Regions from separate parts of the Homo sapiens genome. Here region 2 is linked to region 1. Evidence: promoter capture Hi-C in 16 types of primary human blood cells and fetal thymus (Javierre and others, 2016). All regions are on one chromosome and are shown on one strand. Each heading gives the region's core, a stretch centred on a gene start or on the middle of the fragment in contact. The rest is flanking DNA. Distances are from core to core; before and after follow the strand shown.

Evidence for each region. Contacts are between HindIII fragments. The CHiCAGO score rates a contact against its expected background, and 5 or more counts as called.
Region 2: a fragment that was not itself captured here is called in contact with the fragment with the promoter of KCNH1-IT1 in region 1 in 2 of 17 cell types (megakaryocytes and erythroblasts); the score reaches 6.2 in megakaryocytes.

What each region holds. Positions count from the first base shown.
Region 1 is chr1:211,129,781-211,136,516 of GRCh38, forward strand. It overlaps KCNH1-IT1 (KCNH1 intronic transcript 1), which reads right to left and starts at 3,594. Exons shown (of 2, transcript NR_046784.1): 1 at 3,408-3,594; 2 at 2,499-3,246. KCNH1 (potassium voltage-gated channel subfamily H member 1) reads right to left here and starts at 4,368. Exons shown (of 11, transcript NM_172362.3): 1 at 4,087-4,368. The coding sequence starts at 4,165. RefSeq lists silencers at 2,158-2,358, 3,585-3,775, 4,270-4,549. The HindIII fragment of the contact is 10,582 bases long and covers 1-6,736 here.
Region 2 is chr1:210,620,410-210,626,360 of GRCh38, forward strand. It overlaps HHAT (hedgehog acyltransferase), which reads left to right. Exons shown (of 12, transcript NM_018194.6): 11 at 3,117-3,261. Among named protein-coding and RNA genes, the nearest start is that of HHAT, 290 kb to the left of the region's middle. The HindIII fragment of the contact is 395 bases long and covers 4,077-4,471 here.

The DNA of each region.
Region 1 (6,736 bases), core at 2,344-4,843:
TTATATCAACAACCTGAACCAACTTAACACTATACAAAAACACAGCTGATTTAGCAATCTGTAAATTATACATGTACATAAATCTGTACCAAAATGTGCTGTGTTTCACTCCTGCTAATGTGCATGGATTTTTACTGGCACCTACAATTGTTTGATATAGGTTCCCGAACACTAAAACATATGTTCTGCCCAGAATGGGACCATTTAGAGTAATATTTTTGTAGTTTCCTGGCACCAAGGTCTGCCAGCCTTTCTAAGACAGATCTCCTATTTGCTTCAGCAAACATTCTGACAACAAGTGCCTGCAGATTTAAGCAACTATCAAAAAATATTCTGTAACAACAGTTTCCAACCATGAATATAAAGAGAAACAGGCTGGTTTTGCCTATGTGGCAACAAAGCCAGTAGGATTTAAAATGATCACTGACATGACCATAAGCAAAATCAAATAAAATATGGAGTATTAATTATTTCTGCTGCCTACTTACGGCAATTTAAAGAACAGATAATTATCAAATCTTTCCTTAAATGGGATTCAAAATGTACCAAAGAAAGTTAAAAGTCGGTTTTAGTACCAGCAAGACCAGTAAACACCTTAGAAATGTTTTTTAAATACAGTGACAGGCCTAAACAGTCGCAGCCGGTCAACACTGTAAAATAGGGGCAAGAACCTTGGACCAAGATTCACTAGAATGTAATTTACTAATCACAAGGAGGGTTTCTTGTTTACCACTGTATCCTCAGTGTTCCATAAATACATTCAATAAATCTTTGTTGAATGAATAAACCAAAAACAACTGCTGGCTAGTCCCTGATCTGTCTCTAATTGCCTTTTCCTAATTCTGCCTCTTACGAATTGTAGGTAAATCACTTAACCTGAGGATTCTTAGGTGAGTTTTAGTTTAAGGATTTTAGTTCCTTAAACTCTAAAATGGAGAGACTGCACCTCCTCTACTAGCTTATGAGGATCAAAGGTGATACTCTGTGAAAAGTGACTTGGTACTTTATAATGGGGCACACAGATGTTAAGTGCCCATTATCCCCGCCTTTGCCTTCAGCTAAACCACTGACAAAGGTGAACAGACTGCATTTCCTTGAAATATAATTAGCCTTTCCTTTGCCCTATTATTCTGTTGAGATGTGGTAGTGTGGCTGTTAGCCAAGATGGATGTTGTTCTTGTTGTTATAACATTTTATTTAATCTCCACTGGGAAATTATGCTTCTTGAGAGAATATAATGGTAACATGAGGAAAGGGTTTTTGCATGGTGTACCATAAAGAATCTGACATTGGACTCAAATGGTTTGGGGCCTCATTAGTTCTGCCCTTAAATATTTGAGGAAAGCCTCTTGCATCAATTTCCTTATTTATACAATGATGGGGAAGGAGAGGCAGACTAGATAATATTTAAGGTCTGTCTCTTCCCACAGCTCTATGATATTCCGGGCATCAGATATTCAAATAACCCAAAATGAAGTCAGTACTATTATTCATTATCATATGAGAAGTTTTTAAAGGATGATAAAAATAGTTCCACAGACTAAGTCATAAAAGCTGGAGAAATTATAATGCTGAGAGAAGGATATATGATAGATGTCCTCTAAGGAATACCAGCCTCAGGCATTGTTTGCTCTGCCACTTTGAATAAGCCACTTAATATTCCTAGGACTCAGTTTTCTGATCTGTAAAAGAGGAACATTAATACTGCACAGGACCACTGGGAGAAAATATCTAATAAAATGATCATAAAATATTGCTATTCAAAGGTAAAATGCTATTTTAATACCGTAATGTCCAAAAAAGGGCTCATGGATTTTAGAATGAGACAATCAATATCTTTAAATAGACTTTTTCCACCACAGTAAAATAATATAATGCATGCAGATATTGTGATATTTCTAGGAGTTCACATTTTTTCTTCCATTTGTGTTCAGGAAATATTATAAAAGGGATCACCTTTTAAACATTGAGTCCCATATTTCAAGATGAGAACCATTTATTCTGAAATAATAATTTTAAAAATTCATCCAACTCTCCCAAGATGCTTCATTTTTTTTGATGCTATTCATTTGATTGGTTAATTGAAATCAACCTGCTGAAACTGGTGTTGAAATGACAATGCCCATCCTAAAAATATTCCCAGTGACTTATTCTATTCACATTCTATGATTACAGAGGGAAAGTGGCTCTAATAAGATCAACTAAAATAGACAGTATTCTGCCTTCACAGCTCCAAGATTCTTAAGGTTCCCTTAAAACCCAAGGCATCTTGTGACTTTTACATGTAAGTTTCTCTTCCTGCTCCCTCCACTCAAAAACATACACAGTATACATTAGGTACTGGGTTTCCCCTCTAACTTACAGGGCACTGCCTCTTTACTGAAAAATAGAATTGTCATTGATATTTATGAGAAAGTTGGTGTCACTGACAATGGGATAACCAAATTTGCAAGATTGTCTCCATACCCCTTAATAGTCCAATAAAAATAGCAATAATAGCACAGTAACTCTTATTTTATTTAAAAATAAATGAACAACTCCAGCTTTTTTATGGCAAAACAGTTCATTGTGGCTGTTCACATAGCAATTATCATCCCCTTGCATCCCCAGGTAATGACTGTGACCTTGACCTAAAAGCCACCTTAGTTTGAATAAGGAAGACCTTGAAAGGAAAGGTGACTGACCAGAAACACTCTTAAGAGGCACACAATAAAGAAATGATCATTTCTAAGAAAGTACTTAAATAATACGTGATTATTTGCTATGCTAGTTGATGTGTTTCATTATAAGATAAACTTAAATCACTGTTTAATTAAAGAGTGTTTATTAGTAGCATAAGTCACTTTTCATGCCCTTCCCCTGAATCCCTAACTAAATCCAAACAGAAGCTCATCATTTTACACAGAAGCTCCTTAGACTCTGAAATCGTGATATTTACACATTATTAAAACCCATTTCCTAAGTTAGCTCCTCATGTCTCCCTGGTAGAAGAATGTCATCTGTTTCTGGAAGGGGTGGGGTGGGGGCTCTAGGAGTCTGCAAAGAGCATCTTATGCTTGGCTATCTTTCAATATAGCCATTTGATGAACTCGTGCGCTGCGCCTTCCAACTGCCAGGACTCCTAGTCGCTCTGCAAGTGCTTAGTTGGGGTCTCTCCTCTGTTAAGTCCGAAAGGCGTTTGGAATTCTTCCTTTCCATCCCCGCTCCTAGGACTCTCGCCTCTCAAGGCTTCATGCTACCGTCGATCTTAATGCCACAAGGAAACAGATGAGTGCTGATTGTCAGTTTATTGGGTAATGGATCTATTTATAGGTTTGGTGAGATTGGGAATTTATAGGTGAGCAACACTTAAGGGTGGCATAAAACCGTTGTGGGTTTGGAAGAGGGGAAATATAACAGGTTTGTACCTGTGACCATTTAGTTCGCTCTGCACCTGTGCCCTCCACTTCCCACCTGACGCCAGGAAAACCATCTGCCCCTCACTTCGAAGGTGAGCCTTAACTTCACCTAGAAAGTGGTGGGTGGGTGAAGGGGTGGAATCAGGCCGCCGAGAGCACGTCCCGACACCTCGGACTTTTCAGTTGCAGGGATGGAAGGTGGAGGCAGCCGGATCCTCCCATTCTGAGGCAGCGGGGACCTGGAGTTGCCCGTCTCTACTGCTGGCTCTCCCTGGGGAGAGGCGGCGCCTCTGGGAGCAGCCCGGGAGCCCCAGAGCCTTCGCGGAAGGGTGGGCAGTGCCGATGGGGCGCGCGCTGCCGCTCCGGCTGCAGCCAGCTTTCCATCACTTTTCCCAGTACTTTGCTCAGCAGCTGTCACGCATCCTTGGAGATAAGACCGAGAGGGCGCTAGAAAGGCCCAAAAGGCGTCCCCAGAAGAGCTCTCCTGTTAGGATGGGGACCCATCAGACCCCGCCCCGCCCTGCCCACCTTTCTCTGCCTCGGGGAGGCTGCCCTGGGTGCCCGCGCCGCGGCTCCTTAGCAGAGCTCGCGGGTTCTGCTGCATCTGCTGGCTCCGAGCGGCGAGAGGTTCTGCAATAAAGGCACGGATAAAACGCCCGGGTAATCGAAATCCGAATGCACCTCTTACCATTGGACCGCCGAACAATATTCTCCAGAAACGTGTTTTGAGGGGCCACTAGTCCCCTCCTGCCCCCAGCCATGGTCATCCTCCCAGCAGCTCGGGGTCCGGCGGGCGTCCTGGCGCGGCTTCTTACGACAGCAGGAAACTGGCCTCGGGGCCCGCACGCAGTCCCGGCTCGAAGCGCCCCATGCGCCCGGCGGGGATCCGCAGGCAGGGCTGGCGGCTCCCTCTGGCTGCTACCCTCGCGCCCTCTTCGCGCCTCCCTCCCTGCGGCCCGCCTCGCAGTGCACTCGCGCCGGCCTCGGCTAGCGGCAGCCGCCTCCGGGTGGGCGGAGGGAGCAGCGGCGCCTGGGCCGGCGGCGCCCCCTACCGGGCTCGTGCCCCACCGCCGGCCTGCGGGAGACCAAGCTGGGGGGCTCCCGCAGAGGCAGGGAAGTGGCGGGCGGCCGTGGACCAAGGCTGGGACGGCAGCGCCACCCTCTGGGTTCAGCCGGGAAATGTGTTCAGGATGTGCCATGGGCTGGGTGGAGAGGAGGGCATTGTGAGCAGCTTTCAGGGCGGATTCACCCCCAACAAGTCTTAGGGGAGCGTGCTGATGTAACTCTCTTCCTTTGCTCTGTTTCAGGCCGGGGCCCCCGGGACCTGTGAGGCTCTGGGAACACCTTCTTGCCTTCCTGTAAGGTTAGCCTGACTAGTGAAAGTTGCCCCACCTTGATTCTAGGCCAGTGTTTGAGCAGTAATTAATGAAGTCGTATTGCAATAGTGCAGATTTAGAGTGACTGGCAGATTCAGCTTCAGAAGAGTTGTCTTGGGTTGTTTTTACCGTAGACACAAATGCAGGCTCCTGATGTTTGGTATGATCAGTATCAAACTGCCTGACAAACATCAAAGGGGTGGACTTGTCTCTAAGGGCGAATGCTCAGGAGAGGGGCAGCATTAATTAAGCAACCGTGGCTTTGGCTTGAAGGGTAGTCTGTAGTGCAGAGGATACAGTTAGTTTTTACAGCTGACCCCTGGTATACGGAAGAACCACATACACCCAAGGTTTCTGGACAGGGGCTAAGACAACGGTCGTTTGTTCACTTATTTTGGGGGATTTCGACCCACACATAGTCTGTACCTGCCTTTTTACTATGTATCCCCAGTCGGTGCGGTGGGAGACTAAGCCTATGTCCCACAGGAGAAATGAATGGAGAGTTTACTAGTTTCAGACTGAGTCAACAGTCAACACAAAAATGTAAGAGAAAAAAAAACTAACCCTGAAAATTAATTGTCTGGGTTAGCCATCCTGACATATCCTAATGTATTGCAAAGACATCCTGTCTCAGTTAATTAATTTCAAAAACAGAAGAACTAATTCTTGCCCAGAAATCTCTCAGAGTTGCTGTGAAGATCAAGCAAGAATTATGTATGGGGACAGCACCTTAAATTGTAAAGTGCTGTGCCAAGGTCAGACGTCATTATTGGAGTGACTAAATAAATTGGGCCATTACGAATATCACCCTTTATCTCGTCTTGTGTAGAGACAAAGTAAACAGATTGCTGTTAGCAGAGAGTTGGATAAGACTGTCATAGGATTTGAAATGCAAGTAATGATACACTTTTTCCTTAAGATAGCCTTCTACCCATCGCCTGTTACCTAGTCTAGAACAGTGATTTCTTAAACCCTAGCTCCGTCTAGTGGTTCTTTGTTCTATTACAAATGAGATAACACTGGTTGAAGAGAACTTGATTCTGAAATGTATTTGGTGCTGAGCTGAGCCAGTTTGGTGCCTATCCACTTCATTTGAATAAGTTCATTTAAATAAGGTTTTTAAAGTTGTGTTATCGCACAAACATGCCAAGGGAAGATTTTTCATGACAATATTAAAAACCCATCAAGAAACCTCATAATCCTGCTTGTGAAAGGAAGATAAAGAAAATAATGTGGAGGGGAAAACTATCATAGAGAGTTAATAAAATTTCTAAGGTTTTAATGAGCTCTCATGTTCTGTGGCTTAGATAAAAAAGGAAACAGATGATATTAGTTTGAGATCAGAGATGTTAAAGCCTTGGTGGGCAACCTGATGAGAAAAAGAAATAAGATGTCTTCCATTTTAAATGTACTACTGAAATGGATCTCAACATGGACTCTGTGTGTGTGTGTATGTGTGTGTGTATTGGCACCTTTTTGAATACTACAATTTTTGGTGGCACACTTGAAGAAATTAAAAGACCTAAAACAAAATAGTGCTACTACAAAGTGGTTCTTTTTTTTAAAGTTTTAAACCTCCAGATTGTGTGCCATAACACGATCACATTATTTTACGTCTTTTTGCTTAAATAAGACTGGATGCTTATAAAAGCACTGTTATACTGTGTTATGGCACTTTAAGTACTTGCTTAGAAATGATCATTTCTTCATTGTGTGCTTCTTAAGAGTGTTTCTGGTCAGTTACCTTTCCTTTCAAGGTCTTCCTTATTCAAACTAACTAAGGTGGCTTTTAGGTCAAGATCACAGTCATTACCTGGGGATGCAAGAGGAAGATAATTACTACGTGAACAGCTACAATGAACTGTTTTGCCATAAAAAAAAAAAAAAAAGCTGGAGGTGTTCATGGATTTTTAAATAAAATAAATATTTAAGAATTAAATTGCTAAAAAGTCAGCAGTCTTT
Region 2 (5,951 bases), core at 3,024-5,523, 510 kb before region 1:
GACTCCTGTCCCCTTTGCTGTTAGTTATTACCCTCTTGTGGATGAACCTGACAGATCCCACCCCCTTTTCCTTTCCTGTAGCCCATCATTCTTTTTCCCCACTGTTTCACTGTGAAAATGAACAATGCTCTGTTCATTTTGCTGCTTATTGGCATGGCTAGTTTTGTCAGAGGATGAGGCTGTTGGTTAAAATTAGGTTTTTGGATTCCTTGATCATCGTCTATTTTGTCTCCTACCCACTCACCCTGGGGGATAATCAAGAATTGCCTATGGGCATCTTGATTTCTCCTTTAAATCCTTTTAGTTTGATTCTAACAGGCTGTGCTTTAACATTCTTGCTTATTTAAATTTTTTTTTAATTTCTAAATTTTTAAAAAACATTTATAAAATTGAATTGTAGTCATTCATTTCAGATTTTAGTTGCCCCCCCTCTCCTTCCTATCTCTGAGATCAGCAGCTCCTTCACAGTTGGTATGATTTTGACTTTTTTTTTTTTTCCTAAGTAGATATAGGAATTTATGGAACCATGTAGCTTAGAATATGGGGGTAGTCACAGAATCAAAGGAAGCACGGTAGGAGCTGGGGCCTCAGGGCTGGACAGAGGAGTCCTATGCCTCCAATACACGCTGTCTGTTCTTACCTCCCTTGGCCCTCAGCTCCTCCTCCTGCTGTGTCCAGTCCTTACCCTGCCCCAAGTATCAGCTCCACAGTCCTGCTTAGCAGCCCCAGGCAAAGAGAGTCTTCCTCTCTCAGTACCTCTGTTGATTATTTAATACTTGTAATCACTTCCTACAAAAGAAGAGCCACTTAGCTTAACAAGCTATGTGCACTCTCGGTAGTTGACGTTAACAAAGGAAAAATCACACAGGGCCTTTGTGTTCCCTTCTCAGGATGTGAGGCTGGGGGAGACTGATGGGGTTAGAACAGAAGTGGTGGAGTGTCAGACTCAGTGGATCCCTTAGGAATCAAATGTCTTGTTAGTAACCGCAGTATCTGGAGAGAATTACTTGGACGTATTTATGTCAATTAAGACAATTCATATTTTCTTAATCCATTTTGGATCTTCCTCTGTCTCCCAACTTCCTCTCACCCTGCCTCCCTAGTTACTGCTAGTTGAGTCAGTAATACCCAGAAAATATCTTCCTCTGCTTTAGAATGCAGAAAGTGGTAGATTAATGTCCCATTATTCTCAGAGGTGAAGAGTGCTGAATAATAAGCCTGCTCCTTCCCCATTTCTCTCTCATTAACAGTTTTCACACCATGTAGTTATCTCGTACCAGGTCTTGTCTGACAGTGTCCTCTTGTACGTGCCTGTGGCCTCCTAGAGCAGGGGCAAGACTAGAGGTAATCTTGCCTGGTGGCCTCTAAGTAGAGACACCCTACATCACTGGAGAGCATTCCAGAACAACCATGATCGGGCAGACATCTCACTGTCCACTGCACAGCTTCTCTGTGAGCAGGCCACACTTGCGTCTGGCAGCAGTAAAAGCACGTTCCACAGTGATGTTGGAGCAGAGAGCCGTGGGTGGGGAGATGGGGTGACAGAGGGTAGCAGCCAGATCTGAGAGTTAAGAACAGACCCTGGGGCTGGCAGGAGAGAACAGGAGGAGTCAGAAATTCATTTCTCTAGATGGAGAGGACACTGACCATGATGCCAAAGCAGTCACAGGAGATTCACAGTAGGGCCGCATAATAAGTAAGCCTCTTGCTGAAGACTCGCCCTCCAATTTAGTCCTTTTTGCCTGTCATGAATTGCATCGGCTGCTGTCATTGAGTCATTCCGAGTTCTGTTTGTAATTGGAACGCAGCTGAAATTAGGGTGCACGTGACCCTAGAGATGTGTGGGTTTCTGGAGGATATTCAGGAAATATCTCCAGACCCTTTGCTCCCTCTTTCTCTGTGTCTGTGGATTAGGCGGAGGTGCTTATCAGATACCCTGGGCCCCTGCATGTCCCGCTGCTGTGCTGTACCTGGTTCTCATTCTGAACACACGGTCCCTTGGGGTGGTCCCCGTGCATGTGCTGATAGGGCTCGCACACTCCAGCACAGCGACCTCACTCAGAGGGGCTCCCAGAACAGTCAGGATAAAGGCTTTGTTTGCTTTATGAAATCCCTGGGAAAATCTTAAAAGGAGAAGTGCAATAAAGAGCTAGGAAGGACAAGTGGAATTCTTTATTGTGATGCTGTAAAACACCCCTCCAGCCTTGAGTATTTCAGGCACGCCGATACACTTCATCCTCAGTGCCGACGTGTGCTGCGGGTGAAGTGTGGGCCTGAGCTCTGACTCCAGCAGTAGGCTCGGCTCACACTCATTGTCCTACACTCTTATTATGAGATTGCTCTTAATAGCATGTCAGGTTTAGGGGGTGGTTGGATGGCTTCCCAGGGTCAGTGTAACTGGCCCAGGGGATCATGCTGATCTTGACCTAATTCCATGGAGCTATATATACTAGTTATCACAGACAGCAGTTTGAAGTTCTTGCACCTGTAGGTTTACATGCAGAAAGCAAGTGGAGGTGGGAGGGCTGCTAAATCCTAACTGGCTTCAGTGCTTGTATTCCACATGTCAGAGGGAAGCCCTCGCATTTTGTTCCACCTCAAAGAAACAACTTGGGGTATGTCACTTCTTTCCTTAGGGTAGAATGAACATGGTGCAAGAGTACACTTTTGTTTTGTTTCGAGACACGCTCTTGTTCTGTCACCCAGACTTGGAGTCCTGTGGTGTGATCATGGCTCACTGCAGCCTCGAACTCCCGGGCTGAAGCAATCCTCCCACCTTAGCCTCCCGAGTAGCTGGGACTACAGTCATATGCCACCATGCCCAGCTAATTTTTAAATTGTTTTTGTAGAGATGGTATATCACTATGTTGCCTAGGCTGGTCTTGAACTCCTGGGCCCAAGTGATCCTCCCACCTTGGCCTCCCAAAGTGTGAGATTATAGGCATGAGCTGCCACGCCCAGACAGGAATTGAAGTTTTGAGAGCTGTTTAAATAATGACCTGGTTTGGGCTCTGTGGGGAGGCGTCCTGGGCTGGTGACAGAGAAAGCTGGATGGTATCTTAGCCCCATTTTTTCCACCCTTGTCATGAGATGCTTTCTTGCCATTTTTCCCGTAGGCCCGATACTTCTCCCCACAAGCTCGCCGTCGATTCCACGCTGCCCTTGCTTCTTGTTCCACCTCGATGCTGATCCTGTCCAACCTGGTATTTCTTGGGGGCAATGAGGTTGGGAAAACCTACTGGAATAGGATCTTCATACAAGGTAAGTTGCTTGACAGTGCTGTTTTCAGTCAGTTTCTTGTTTTCCATGTATGCGGATGGGATCATACATGGGATGGATGGGATTTGGGGGAAGTCATTCATTGTTATGTTCATGGCATGTGACCTCTAAAGTACCAGCCAGGAATAATTTCCTAAGTTTGACTATGACTTTAAGTGTCCCCTGTTTTTGAGGTACCCCATATCTCCTGTATGTGATACTTGTTTAACACCAAAAGGTATTATTCCAACTCTCCCAAAGTGTATATTCCCTTCCATTACACTATGTTTCCAATTATTTGATATTTCTTAATCTTTCCTACTGCTGTGGTTGAATATTCCCTTCAAAACTCATGTTGAAACTTAATCCCCAATTGGCATTATTAAGAGATGAGGCCTTTAAGAGGTGATTGGATCATGAGGGGTCTGCCCGCATGAATGGATTAACCCATTCATGGATTAATGGGTTATTATGGAAGTGGGACTGGTGACTTTACAAGAAGAGGAAGAAAGACCTGAGATAGGATGCTCAGCCTCCTCATCACGTGATGCCCTGTGCTACCTGGGGACTCTACAGAGAGTTCCCACCAGCAAGAAGGTCTTCACCAGATGCAGCCCCTTGACCTTGGACTTCTCAGCTTCCGTAACTGTAAGAAATAAATTCCATTTCTTTATAAATTATACAGTTTTAGATATTCTGTTATAATCAACAGACAACAAAGACACCTACTGTCTGTGGGTCCTAGCCTGCAATATACTGCAAAATCTAACCTTGTTTTGTTTATTGCTCTGAACGTCCTACTAGGAATTTGCCCTAGAAGCTTCCTTGTGCTCTCCTGAAGCTGTGGGCATGGCATCTGTGTTTGCCACAGCTCTTGGTTGTGGGTATTTTTGTGTGAATACTAGGGGCCAACCTTATGTTTAATGTGCATTAAATAGATAATCTGAATATCCAAAGCAAAACCATACTTGCAGCAGGTAAACTGCTACTATGTGGGAGTTGTCAAAACATTCTATTAATAATTGATCGTTGTTTATTTATGGTCACCATTTCCCTTGGGCTGGGACTGAGTTACATCATATCTATAAGAGAATTGGGAGATTTGGAACTACTCATGGTACATACTACTATAGCCAACTTGCTACATCTTAAAAGAGAAGATCCCTGCTCTGTTCCCTGCCCAGTGACACAGTCTTGTGCTTTTGCTTTGGGAAGCTTTGCCAAGTGGTGATGACATAACTCTGCACAGCTGGCCCATTATCTCCACATCTGGGTCCCTGAGGAGGCAGCGGTGCTTTTGCTGCAGCTCTTTTCACACCAGAAATAACAGCAACACAGCTGCAGTATTCCAGAATGGCAGACCATGGGCCTAAACTGTGGCAGCCTTGGGTGAGCCAGGCTCAAAGGGCCAAGAGAGAGTCCTGTTCTACTTTAATCTTGTCACTAAAAGACCCCTCTTTGATCTTGTTTTCTGTGCGATGTTTTAGCTGATAGTTCCTGAAAAGACCACGTACTTTCTAAGCGAAAGCTGTCCTTTAATAAAGATGAGAGATAATAGGGCATTATGGATCTAAAGATAAAGGTGGGTTACAGCATCCTTTACTTTTCTTGGCTCCTCTCACAGAACCTAGCACAATGATAAGAACATTGTGACTTGGTGGGGGGAAAGTGCGGACTTGGTTTGCTTGTCACATAATGAGGAGGCTCTGATTTTCGCTTCCCTAAATCAAATGCATTGGATGTTTGCTACTTGCGAGGCACTGAGAACACAGAGATGAAAAAGGAAGCTCACACGAATGTGAGTGCCAAACACACAAAAATGTGCAGTAGATTCAGGGAATTGCTCTGCTGGATGTATGAGTGAGTTACTGGAGGTCACAGGATAGAGTAGCTGACTTTCCACAGAAGATGGGCTTTTCAGAAGAGGTGGCATTTGAATTGAAGTAATAATTTAGGAGTTTGCTAGGTAGAAAAGGCAGGCATATCAGGGAAATTAACACTGGCTGCTTTGTGTGAAACTCCAAAATCTTAGTAATTTCTCACCATAGAAGTTTGTTTCTCTGACAGTTCAATACAAATCCAGTGGCTTTTTCTAAGCAGTGACTCCAGGACCTAGAATCTTTGTTTTGATTCTCCACTGTCTTGTGCTGGCATCATGGAGGGGAAGAGAACATGAGACTGGTGCACCAGGTGCTCAAACATGTGACATTTCTGCTTACATGTCATTGGCCAGAGCCAGTCATATGACCAACCCAAGTACAGGGCAGGGGTGTGTAGGGAAGCATGCAGATATCAGTGTGCACCAGCTGTCTATGGCACAGCAGGAGAGGCACATGGGCCTGGTCAGAAATGCCCAAGAGGCAGTTGGAAATATGAGTTGGAGAAGATGGTGGGACCAGTGATTGAGATGTGTGGGGGTCAAGGGCGTAAAGATTGTATGTGAGGCCAGGGGAGTAGACACAATTAACCACGGAGCTGTGTAGAATGAGAAGAGAACAGGTGGGAGAAACCCCAGGGAATGCTGGTATTGAAGGGGGCAGAGAGAAAGGCAGGAAGATCAAAGTGTGACTTGCCTGACATCCTATGGAGTTAACCTCAGTCACATGGGATTGGGCTCTGAAAACCCGGTCTGCTGCTGCCTCATGGGACCAGCTATGGTCTGTGACTGAACGCACTATTTGTGTCCTCCTTGG